Linked DNA regions of Homo sapiens: all the other regions are linked to region 2. Evidence: promoter capture Hi-C in 16 types of primary human blood cells and fetal thymus (Javierre and others, 2016). All regions are on one chromosome and are shown on one strand. Each heading gives the region's core, a stretch centred on a gene start or on the middle of the fragment in contact. The rest is flanking DNA. Distances are from core to core; before and after follow the strand shown. Region 1 overlaps PRR14L (proline rich 14 like). Region 2 holds the start of YWHAH (tyrosine 3-monooxygenase/tryptophan 5-monooxygenase activation protein eta). Region 3 overlaps PRR14L (proline rich 14 like). Region 4 overlaps DEPDC5 (DEP domain containing 5, GATOR1 subcomplex subunit).

Region 1 (2,700 bases), core at 24-2,523, 240 kb before region 2:
GCAATTATATTATGACAAACAATTTTCCAAAAAAGTGAACCTAGCTTGTAACAGAGAAGGAGCTCACCTTTTGGGTCGAGGAAGGCCCATGGGGGTAAGATTAGGATCTGGCCTAGGAATGGTTTTCCGGATGCGAATCTGTGAGACTTTCTTTGGCCTCTTCTCTGGCTCAGCCTATTTTTAAGGATTAAGAAGAAAGATGGTCAAGCTGTAAGACATTTTATTTATATATTTTTTGAGACAAGGTCTCACTCTGTGGCCCAGGCTGGTGTGAAGTGGTGCAATCATAGCTCACTGCAGCCTTGAATTCCTGGACTCAAATGATCCTCCTGCCTTGGCCTCCCAAAGCGCTGGGGTTACAAGTATAAGCCACCGTAACTGGGAATTTTTATTTTTAGATGGGGTCTCGCTATATTGCCCAGGCTGGCCAGGAACTCTTGGGCTCAACTGATCCTTTTGCCTCAGCCTCTGCGGTAGCTAGGACTATAGGTGTATGCCACCACCCCTGGCATATTGTAAGATATTTTAAATATATAAAGTCCATCTTGACACTTAAAACATTGCTACCTCACTCTAGAGATGACTCTATTAAGCAGTTTATGACAAAGCTCCCACTTCTATTCCTGCTTTTTTTATTATTTATTTATTTTTTTGATAGAGTTTTGTTCTTGTTGCCCAGGCTTAAATGCAATGGCATGGTCTTGGCTCACCGCAACCTCTGCCTCCCAGGTTCAAGTCATTCTCCTGCCTCAGCCTCCTGAGTAGCTGGAATTACAGGCATGTGCCACCACGCCCGGCTTATTTTGTATTTTAGTAGAAACAGGGTTTCTCCATGTTGGTCAGGCTGGTCTCAAACTCCCAACCTCAGGTGATCCGCCCACCTCGGCCACCCAAAGTGCTAGGATTACAGATGTGAGCCACCGCATCTGGCCTTATTTATTTTTTGAGATGGAGTCTCACTCTGCCGCCCAGGCTGGAGTGTGGTGGTGCAATCCAGGCTCACTGCAACTTCCACCTCCTGGGTTTAAGCGAATCTACTGCCTCGGCCTCCAGAGTACCTGGGATTACAGGAATGTGCCACCACATTTGGCTAATTTTTGTATTTTTAGTAGAGATGGGGTTTCACCATACTGGCCAGGCTGGTCTCGAACTCCTGACCCCGGGTGATCCGCCCGCCCTGGCCTCCCAAAGTGCTGGAATCACAGGCGTGAGCCACCGTGCCCGGCCTTTTATTTTTTTTTTAAGATGGGGTTTCACTCTGTCACTCAGGCTGGAGTGCAGTGATGCAATCTGGGGTCATTGCTGCAAACTCTGCCTCCCGGGCTCAAGCAATTCTCCCTCCTCAGCCTCCCGAGTAACTGGGACTGCAGGTGTGCACCACCACAGTCAGCTCATTTTTGTCTTTTTTGTAGAGACACAGTTTTGCCAGGTTGCCCAGGCTGCTATTGAACTCCTGGACTCAAGCGATCCGCCCGCCTCAGCCTCCCAAAGTGCTGAGATTACAGGCGTGTGCCACCGTGCCTGGCCCCTGCTGTGTTTTAAGCAACTACTCCCTTCATATCATCAAAACAAGAATTGTACATTCAGTTCAGATATTGAGACTGTCAACATGAAAGTTTGCAACTGTTGAAGACAACAGACGTTGCAAAATTGAACATCATCACCATCCACTCATCTTCTTTGAATGCACAAAGCAGCTCTTTCGTCCAATTCTCTAAACACTGTTACATGCTGTTGGCAAGAAAAAAGTATCTGGAAAACAATGCAGATTAAAAAATCCACTGTGTCCTTTACTGGCCAAGAGAAAAACTCCTGGCTTAGTACTCTCCAGAACTCGGCTGACACTGAAGGTGGTACGTAAAGATACTCAGAAGCCAGTCTGTAGCTATAATGCGATGTGAGTTGACAATGGCCACCTCCAATGCCACCATCATCTGACCCAACCAGCACTTTACACTTACCTCTTTCTGTTCTGGGGGGCTGCTCTGTGGGCAGGGGCATGCTGCTTTCACACCATCCAGCTCATCCAATCCACGAACCTGGAACTCAGAGGCTGAAAGCAGGAGCTTGCTGACAGCTGATTCTGCTACCAAGCAAGACTTTGGTACCAAGGCAGGGAATGGAGGCTCCAGCCTAGCACCATGAAGAGAAAGAAGATATGAGAGGGGTTCCCTTTCTACTTCCAGCACATTCAACTTCTTCTTCTTCATTTTTTTTTTTTTTTTTGAGAAGGAGTTTTGCTCTTGTTGCCCAGACTGGAGTGCAATGGTACGATCTCGGCTCAATGCAGCCTCTGCCTCCCGGGTTCAAGCAATTCTCCTGCCTCAGCCCCTCGAGTAGCTGAAATTACAGGCATGCGCCACCACGCCCAGCTAATTCTGTATTTTTAGTAGAGACGGAGTTTCTCCATGTTGGTCAGGATGGTCTTGATCTCCCGACCTTAGGTGATCCACCCGCACCGGCCTCCCAAAGTGCTGGGATTACAGGTGTGAGCCACCACGCCCAGCCTCAACTTCTTAACATCTAGGCCTCAATACTTTTTCTTTCTTTCCAGAGAATAATATATCCAGTCAACCTGCATTCTAGTCACTTCCAGACATAGCCTGTATCTACATATGTAAAAAAATTACAAGAATGTGTAATCCATTTTATTGCTATGGAATTTTATAAGGAAAAATGTAAAAAGGAACAGACTTTTTG
Region 2 (2,700 bases), core at 117-2,616:
AAGATTCCAGGCCTGAAATATGGCTTCCCAATTACCTAAGGATGAAGCCTCAAATCTTTGGCCTGGCATTTAAAAGACTCCGTAATCTTGTTTTACCCAACCTCACTTCCCATTCTTAGGCCTCTCTTCTCACCATCTCCCAGGTCACTGCCAAGCCTTTGCCAATGCTGTACCCCAGGCCTTAATCTTTTTCCTGACTCTCCTTCAAGATCCAGCTTATCCCTGTGGGCTGAGCATGCAGTAGATGCTCAATAAAATTCTCAGCGAGCCCAAGGCCCCCTCTCCTGCACTGCCCTTGGCGTGTTGAAATCAAGTGGGGGCCTTGTTTTAATCATCATTTTCCTAGCTTGTCGGGCAGCCCAGTCCAGGGCCTGGCACAAGGGACCCTCAGCATCCAATACCAGCCAGGATTGGGAGGGGCTCAGTGACCAGCCAGTTGGGCCACCCCAGCTCTTTGCCACAAGAGAAAGTTCAGCCTGGGTTTGGACTCAGATCCTGGCCCCACCACTTACAGGCTGCGTAACCCTGAGCAAGTCACTAACCTCGCTTTTCCTCAGGTTCCACGTTTTAAATATGGGGAGACCAGCTGTGCCCACTGTGGGCTGGGTAGTGAGGATTAAAGAGGAGGATGCTTGTACGGGACTAGCACTGGGCTGGCTCCTAATGTGTCCTGAATATTACTTGTCCCGCCCTGGCCACCCAGTCCCCTCCTCTGGTGGAAGGCACAGCCTGCCCAAGGCTACGTCTCAGGTTGGGTTCGATTGTGTGTGTCTGTGTAGCGGGGCTGTCCCCGAGGGTCGGACTCGATCCTGCCCGGACCAGTACAAGGTGTGGCCCAGCAGAACGCATGGACAGGCAGGGCTCGGGGCGGGCGGGACGGCTGGGGCGGGGCTGGGCGGACCCGCCCCTCGGGGCACGCGGTCTCCCGGCTTCTCCGCCAGTATGTTTGCTTGCTTTTGGGGCCCTTCTCAAGCCAGATCTCTAACGTGGATGGAGTGGCGCGTTTCAGGGTGGGGCTATGACAATGCACTGCCTGTGCAGCCGCCATCACCGCGCCCCCTCCACCGGCTCCGCAGTCTCCTGCCCGGCTTTCCCTTCTCCACCTCCATCTCTGCGGCGGTAAAATGCAGCACTCGCAGAGCGCCTGCGCGGCTTTCAGGCCGGGCGGCGGCGGCGGCGGTGGCTATTTATAGTAGGTGACGTCACCTTGAAATAGACCGTTAGGGCCGGCCCGCCCTTCCCCCCTCCCACTCCCGCCGCTCCCCGCCGCCCGGCCTGGCCACTCTCACTGCGCAGGCGTCGTCCCGTCCTCCCATCCCCCAGCGCGGCCGCGTCTCCTCCCTCGGCGTTGTCCGCGGCGCGAGCCACAGCGCGCGGGGCGAGCCAGCGAGAGGGCGCGAGCGGCGGCGCTGCCTGCAGCCTGCAGCCTGCAGCCTCCGGCCGGCCGGCGAGCCAGTGCGCGTGCGCGGCGGCGGCCTCCGCAGCGACCGGGGAGCGGACTGACCGGCGGGAGGGCTAGCGAGCCAGCGGTGTGAGGCGCGAGGCGAGGCCGAGCCGCGAGCGACATGGGGGACCGGGAGCAGCTGCTGCAGCGGGCGCGGCTGGCCGAGCAGGCGGAGCGCTACGACGACATGGCCTCCGCTATGAAGGCGGTGAGCGCGCCGGGAGCCCGGGCGGCTGGCCGGGGGGGGCCTGGCGTTGGGGAGGGACGGGGATGGCCGCGGGCGCGTTCCCCTCCCGGCCATGGGCGACCCGGCGACCCGGCTGGGCGTGGCCGCCCGCCCGCCCTTAGCCCGCGCTTCCCGCTCCCGCTGGGCGCCCCGCCACTTCCTGAGGCTGGGCCCAGGGTGGGGGATCCGGGAGGGTGCAGTTCGGGATCGCGAAGGCAGCCCCGGAAGGGGGGCGGGCCGGTCGGGGTCGCCACATCTTAGTTCGGAACCCGGCCGGGGGCAGAGGGTGCCCTAGGGGACGCGAAGGAGCCGCATTTCTCCTAGAGCGTTTCACCGGACCCGGGGGCTCCCCCTCTCGTCTTCCTCCGTTCCCCAACTTGGAATAAAGAATCACCTAGTAAGTGGCGCCCTGTCTCAGCTGGTTTTCTCTGCCACGACCTGAAGTCTGCAATTCCGATCTGTTTTGCTCTGCTCGTTCGAATTGTTCTGGTTCCATCTTCCCACGCCTGGGGGTCTGGCTTTGTGTGCGAAGACCCCTTTCCTGCAGTCTAGGCGTGGACGGGGGCGGGAGAGTGGGCGGAGGGTGTGGGGCCCCACTCCACAGCCCCAGGTTTGCTGCTGCGCTGTCTGCTTGGAGATTAAAATGAAACGTGACTTCTAGGTGAGACGAATCTGTGTGTCTTTGCATTCCTGAGACCCTCATAAATCGATTCTGCAGCTTCTCCGGTGGATGAGTCGTGCCCAGCCACACCCTAGCAAAATACCGTGGGTCACACACCACCTGCATTTCTGAGTTCCGGTTACCATCTCACTCTCTCTCCACGTTATTTTACGTTTTCTGTAAATGAATATTTCCTCTCCCTGCGTCAAGGTCACACAGTGGTAGAACAACTGCGACCACCAACCTATGTTCAGTGTACAACCTCCTGAGACCTGGGAGGATCCCCTTGAACTCCGCCTTAGACCTATACATTCAGAAATTCGGGCGGTGAGACTCAGACATCTGCATTGTAACCAGCTCTCACAGGCG
Region 3 (2,700 bases), core at 64-2,563, 220 kb before region 2:
TGCACTGAGGGGAGAGTGTAGTAGCAGAGGTTCACTTACTAAACAACTTGGTGCAGGGGATCCCAAATCATTCCTCAGCCAATTTATAATTACACTGAAGTCCTCCCACTCAGAATAACCAAAACGTAATAAATAAAATCAAGTAAAGTAATTTGCACAGTGCTCAACCATGCAAACACTTAATGAAACAAAGGTAGTAAGTATATATTAGATTTTCATCGAGAAAACTTAAATCTGGGCCGGGCGCGGTGGCTCACACTTGTAATCTCAGCACTTTGGGAGCCTGAGACGGGTGGATCACCTGAGGTCAGGAGTTTGAGACAAGTCTGGCCAACATGGTAAAACTCCGTCTCTACTAAAAATACAAAAAAATCAGCCGGGCATGGTGGCACGTGCCTGTAGTCCCAGCTATTTGAGGCTGAGGCAGGAGAATTGCTTGAACCCGGCAGGCGGAGGTTGCAGTAAGCCAAGATCGTGCCACTGCACTCCAGCCTGGGTGACAGAAAGAAAAAAAAAAAAAAAAGAAAGAAAACTTAAATCTGGGTGGGGCAGAGTGAAGATTTTGGCAGCTGGAGCCCTGGAGACAAGCTTGGTTTCTAAGAGGCATCATTCAGTTTTTTTTTTTTTTTTGAGACGGAGTCTTGCTCTGCTGCCCAGGCTGGAGTGCAGTGGAGCGATCCCCGCTCACTGCAAGCTCCACCTCCGGGGTTCACACCATTCTCTCGCCTCAGCCTCCCAAGTAGCTGGGACTACAGACGCCCGCCACCATGCCTGGCTAATTTTGTTTTTTTTCTTGTATTTTTAGTAGCGATGGGGTTTCACTGTGTTAGCCAAGATGGTCTTGATCTCCTGACCTCGTGATCTGCCTGCCTCGGCCTCCCAAAGTGCTGGGATTACAGGTGTAAGCCACTGCGCCCAGCCGGCATCATTCAGTTCTTAATTCCACAGTAAAGATAAAGTAGCAGATGCCTGACCTTGGCAGAGCAAGCCAAAATGCTGGCCACACTACAGAAGAGAACGTGGGTCTATTTAAATCAAATCCATGGTGATGGCATATATTGCTCATGCTCCCAGGGCTCAACATCTTCACAGGCCTGTCTCCACAGAATCTTCTTCTCTGGCTTGCTATGACTGGCTATGACTTTGGACAGCTGAGCCTGCTTCCTCACATGCAACACAGGAATACCCTGGAATGTTCTTGGGGGACAGAATGAACTAGGCCATTGCTGCTAAAAACTCTAGTAGAGATGCTGATTTCAAGCTCGCCTATACCAAACTGAGACCCTTATCCATGGGTTTGGGGGAGAAAAAAAATCAAATATTTTACCAATTTAAGTCATTAAATAAGCATGATATTAGAACATGAAGAAAAGTGTCACAGAGTAATTTAGCTGCAGATACTGTTCAGGAGAGTTCATCTTATCTATGTCCAATGTGGACCAGCTTCTTAGGTGGAGAGTAGCCAGGTAATTTTGAAAAGGCAGATTTCCAAGCAGAAAATAACCCTGGTTCTCCTGTTTAAAAGGCCAGTTCAGTGGTTAAATGAAAGTGTAGTTCAACAGACAGTAAATTCTGTGGTAAGATGTGGGTGAAAATATACCAAAGACTGAATACAGCAATACTGGAGCCCAACTAAACAGATCTTGGGGGTGGGGTTAGGGGCCCACTAAACTGTATCCCTAGTAAGCCTCTAAGAACAGGGTGAGATTTATGTACAAAACACCATTTCTCATCTTCGGAGGAATGTCCTTTAATCTACACTGGACAGTGAAGCCTCTGAGCCACAGAAGAAATCTGCAGCAGCAGGAAGCTGGGTGATAAACTGGGACAAATGTCCTTTTTCATAAGAAAGATTGGTGCTTCCTTTTCTGTCCAGGCTGCCGAGAAGCTAAGAGTCAAATCTGATGTTTCATCACAGTAACAAAATAGTCATATAATTTAATGCAGCAGTCCCCAACCCTGGGCCATGGACCAGTACCCATCCTTGGTCTGTTAGAAATCGGGCGGCACAGCAGGAGGTGAGAAGCAGGCAAGTGAGCAAAGCTTCATCTGCATTTACAGCTGCTCCTCATGCTTGCATTACTGCCTGAGCTCCGCCTCCTGCCAGATAAACACTAGCATTATATTCTCATAGGAGCGTGGACCCTATTGTGAACTGTACATGCAAGGGATCTAGGTTGTGAGCTCCTTATGAGAATCTAATGCCTGATGATCTGTCACTGTCGCCCATCAACCCCAGAGGGGACCACCTAGTTGCAGGAAAACAAGCTCAGGGCTCCCACTGATTCTACATTATGGGAAGTTGTATAATTATTTCATTATATATTACAATGGAATAATAATAGAAACGAAGTGCACAATAAATGCAATGCACTTGAATCATCCTAAAAGCATCCACCCCACCAGATCTGTGGAAAAACTGTCTTGCACGAAACAGGTTCCTGACTCCAAAAATGTCGGGGACCACTGACTTAGCGTATTCACTTTATCTTCTCTTTGTGAGGTTCTGAGACAGGGTCTTGCTCTGTTGCCCAGGATGGAGTACAGTGGTGTGATCACGGCTCACTACAGCCTCAACCTCCCAGGGCTCAAGTATCCTTCTGCCTTAGCCTCCCGAGTAGCTGGGACCACAGGTGTGTGTGCTGCCATGCTAATTTTTGCATTTTTTGTAGAGAAGGGGTTTCGCCACATTGCCCAGGC
Region 4 (2,700 bases), core at 26-2,525, 130 kb before region 2:
ACGAAAAAAGTACCCAGGCGTGGTGGTGGGCGTCTGTAATCTCAGCTACTTGGGAGGCTGAGGCAGGAAAATCACTTGAACCCAGGATGTGGAGGCTGCAGTGAGCTGAGATCATGCCACTGCACTCCAGTCTGGGTGACAGAGTGAGACTCCGTCTCACAAAAACAAACAAACAAAACAAACCCCAGGCAGCCTCTATTTTTTTTCAATAATACATACTTCAGCGTAAGTTTCTTTCTTTTTTTACATGTTATTTATTTATTTAGTGTCACCCAGCCTGGCACAAAGCTGATTAGTATATGTTTCAACAAATAAGAACTAAAAGAAAACCCATCACGGTACCATTATCATTGGTAACAAAATTAACACTAATCCCTAAATGCCCTCTAATAGCCAGTGCATAGTCAGTTTTTTGAATTGCCTCAAAAATGTGCTTTTGCAGTTAGTTTGAAATGGGACCTAAACAAGATCCACTTTTTGCATTTGGTTATAATGCCTTTTGTGTGTGTGTGTGACAGTAGAATGTCTTGCTTTCTACATTTGGCTGATTGTTGCCTTGTAGTGTTTCAGTTTTCCTCTATTCTGCAGATTCCCTGTAAACTGGCAATTATCTCTGGAAGCTTGATTAGATTTAGATTCAAATTTGAGGGCAAGTAGACTTCTTGGGCACTATGTTCTTTCTCCCACATCACATCATACCTCTCTTCTCATTCTGTTTTTAGTGATGAGAGATTAATCAGTGGGATTAGGTGGGGTCAGCCTGGAGCAGTCCTTTCTTTACAACTATGATCCTAGGACTTTGGCTGCATAATGTCTGTCATTTCCCCCCTCTCTTATATAACATCTCAAGCTGTTAAGGGTGAAGTACCGCATACAGGTTTCCCACTTGTAGATCACACTGGGGATTTTTGTTATTGGGTTCCATGTGGCTTGGGCTGGTGATGGGTTTTAGTTTTAACTCAAGGTAGGACAGCATCCCTCGCTTGATGGTAACTTTTTGTCTCTTGCCTGGCAGATCTGTGCGAGAGCGAGAGAGTCACAGTCGAAAGAGTGCCAGCTCCTGTGATGTTTCATCCAGCCCTTCCCTACCAAGCCGCACACTGCCCACTGAGGAAGTGAGGAGCCAGGCTTCTGACGACAGCTCCCTAGGCAAGAGTGCCAACATCCTGATGATCCCACACCCCCACCTGCACCAGTATGAAGTCAGCAGCTCCTTGGGATACACCAGCACTCGAGGTAAGAGTGCTGAAGCACAGACAGAGCCAGGGACATCTTTCTTAATATAGTGGGTGACTGGAGGTGGGAGGATTGGTCAGAGGTGGGGTGTAAATCCCACATCTTAATGATTTCTTTGCCAGTGCAGTAGGTACAAATCACTTTAGCTGTTAGCTATGTATATATTATACTTCTTTTTTTTTTTTTTTTTTTTTTGGTGACAGAGCACCTAGGATAAAGTGCAGTGATGCAATCACAGCTCACCTCAGTGCGGCCTTGAACTCCTGGACTCAATCGATCCTCCCACCTCTGCCTCCCAAGTAACTGGGACTATAGCATGCCACCACACCCAGCTGATTATCATATTTTTTTTTGTAGAGGTGGGGAAGTGCAGTGATGCAATCACAGCTCACCTCAGTGCGGCCTTGAACTCCTGGACTCAATTGATCCTCCCACTTCTGCCTCCCAAGTAACTGGGACTATAGCATGCCACCACACCCAGCTGATTATCATATTTTTTTTTGTAGAGGTGGGGTTTTACCATTCCCAGGCTGGTCTTGAACTCCTGGACTCGAGGGATCCACCCATTGGCCTCCAAAAGTGCTGAGATTACAGGCATGAACCAATGTTACCGCACCCTGCCTCTATTATACTATTTTTTGTTTAGCCTTTCTTCATCCATCATTTAACTGTATGCCTTTCCATATGTTAATGGAAAGCTTTTCTTAGGCCTAGGGTCAAAAGGGTTTATTTCCTTATGATTTCCATTTGTGCCATATATAAAACAACCTCTGTCTTAATGTTGCATTTTAGTTTCTCATTTACCGGTCGGGCGCAGTGGCTCACACCTGTAATTCCAGCACTTTGGGAGGCCAAGGCGGGTGGATCACTTGAGGCCAGAAGTTTGAGACCAGCCTGGTCAACATGGTGAAACGCCGTCTCTACTCAAAATACAAAAATTAGCTAGGTGTGGTGGCGGGTGCCTGTAATCCCAGCTACTCAGGAGGCTGAGGCAGGAGAATCACTTGAACCTGGCAGGCGTAGTTGCAGTGAGCCGAGATTCCACCACTGCACTCCAGCCTGGGTGACAGAGGGAGACTCCACCTCAAAAAAAAAAAAACAAAAAACTTTTTTTTTCACTTACCTGTTTTTTTTTAACTTTTATTTGCATTGATTTTGTACCGAATTTATTCCCATACTATCAGTTTTTGTTTCTTCAGTTTCTTTCTTTTCTTTTTTTTTCTTTTCTTTTTTTCTGAGACAGAGTCTTGCTCTGTTGCCCGGGCTAGGGTACAGTGGCATGATCTCAGCTCACTGCAACCTCTGCCTCCTGGGTTCAAGTGATTCTCTTGCCTTAGCCTCCCAAGTAGCTGGGATTACAGGCACACACCACCACACCAGCTAATTTTTGTTTTTTTAGTAGAGATGGGGTTTTGCCGTGTTGGCCAGGCTGGTCTCAAACTCCTGGCCTCCAATGATCCACCC

What was found. The method cuts DNA at HindIII sites, captures the fragments that hold promoters and counts their contacts. A CHiCAGO score of 5 or more calls a contact.
Region 1: a fragment that was not itself captured here is called in contact with the fragment with the promoter of YWHAH in region 2 in 2 of 17 cell types (endothelial precursors and naive CD4 T cells); the score reaches 8.6 in endothelial precursors.
Region 3: a fragment that was not itself captured here is called in contact with the fragment with the promoter of YWHAH in region 2 in 1 of 17 cell types (endothelial precursors); the score reaches 5.1 in endothelial precursors.
Region 4: a fragment that was not itself captured here is called in contact with the fragment with the promoter of YWHAH in region 2 in 3 of 17 cell types (endothelial precursors, megakaryocytes and erythroblasts); the score reaches 10.9 in endothelial precursors.

Annotation. Positions count from the first base shown.
Region 1 is chr22:31,701,589-31,704,288 of GRCh38, forward strand. It overlaps PRR14L (proline rich 14 like), which reads right to left. Exons shown (of 9, transcript NM_173566.3): 6 at 1,962-2,133; 7 at 68-174. Among named protein-coding and RNA genes, the nearest start is that of PISD, 41 kb to the left of the region's middle. The HindIII fragment of the contact is 3,996 bases long and covers 1-2,700 here.
Region 2 is chr22:31,943,169-31,945,868 of GRCh38, forward strand. YWHAH (tyrosine 3-monooxygenase/tryptophan 5-monooxygenase activation protein eta) reads left to right here and starts at 1,367. Exons shown (of 2, transcript NM_003405.4): 1 at 1,367-1,652. The coding sequence starts at 1,566. YWHAH-AS1 (YWHAH antisense RNA 1) reads right to left here and starts at 2,198. Exons shown (of 3, transcript NR_171018.1): 1 at 2,065-2,198. It overlaps LOC124900477 (a long non-coding RNA gene), which reads left to right and starts at 1,666. Exons shown (of 3, transcript XR_007068065.1): 1 at 1,666-2,067; 2 at 2,332-2,510. RefSeq lists enhancers at 1-686, 687-1,544, 2,288-2,337 and silencers at 808-957, 1,238-1,327, 1,338-1,557, 1,628-1,967. The HindIII fragment of the contact is 4,478 bases long and covers 1-2,700 here.
Region 3 is chr22:31,721,911-31,724,610 of GRCh38, forward strand. The region is part of intron 3 of PRR14L (proline rich 14 like); the gene reads right to left. Among named protein-coding and RNA genes, the nearest start is that of PRR14L, 27 kb to the right of the region's middle. The HindIII fragment of the contact is 1,455 bases long and covers 587-2,041 here.
Region 4 is chr22:31,813,977-31,816,676 of GRCh38, forward strand. It overlaps DEPDC5 (DEP domain containing 5, GATOR1 subcomplex subunit), which reads left to right. Exons shown (of 43, transcript NM_001242896.3): 21 at 1,016-1,236. It also overlaps the pseudogene RPL17P52. Among named protein-coding and RNA genes, the nearest start is that of DEPDC5, 61 kb to the left of the region's middle. The HindIII fragment of the contact is 1,314 bases long and covers 619-1,932 here.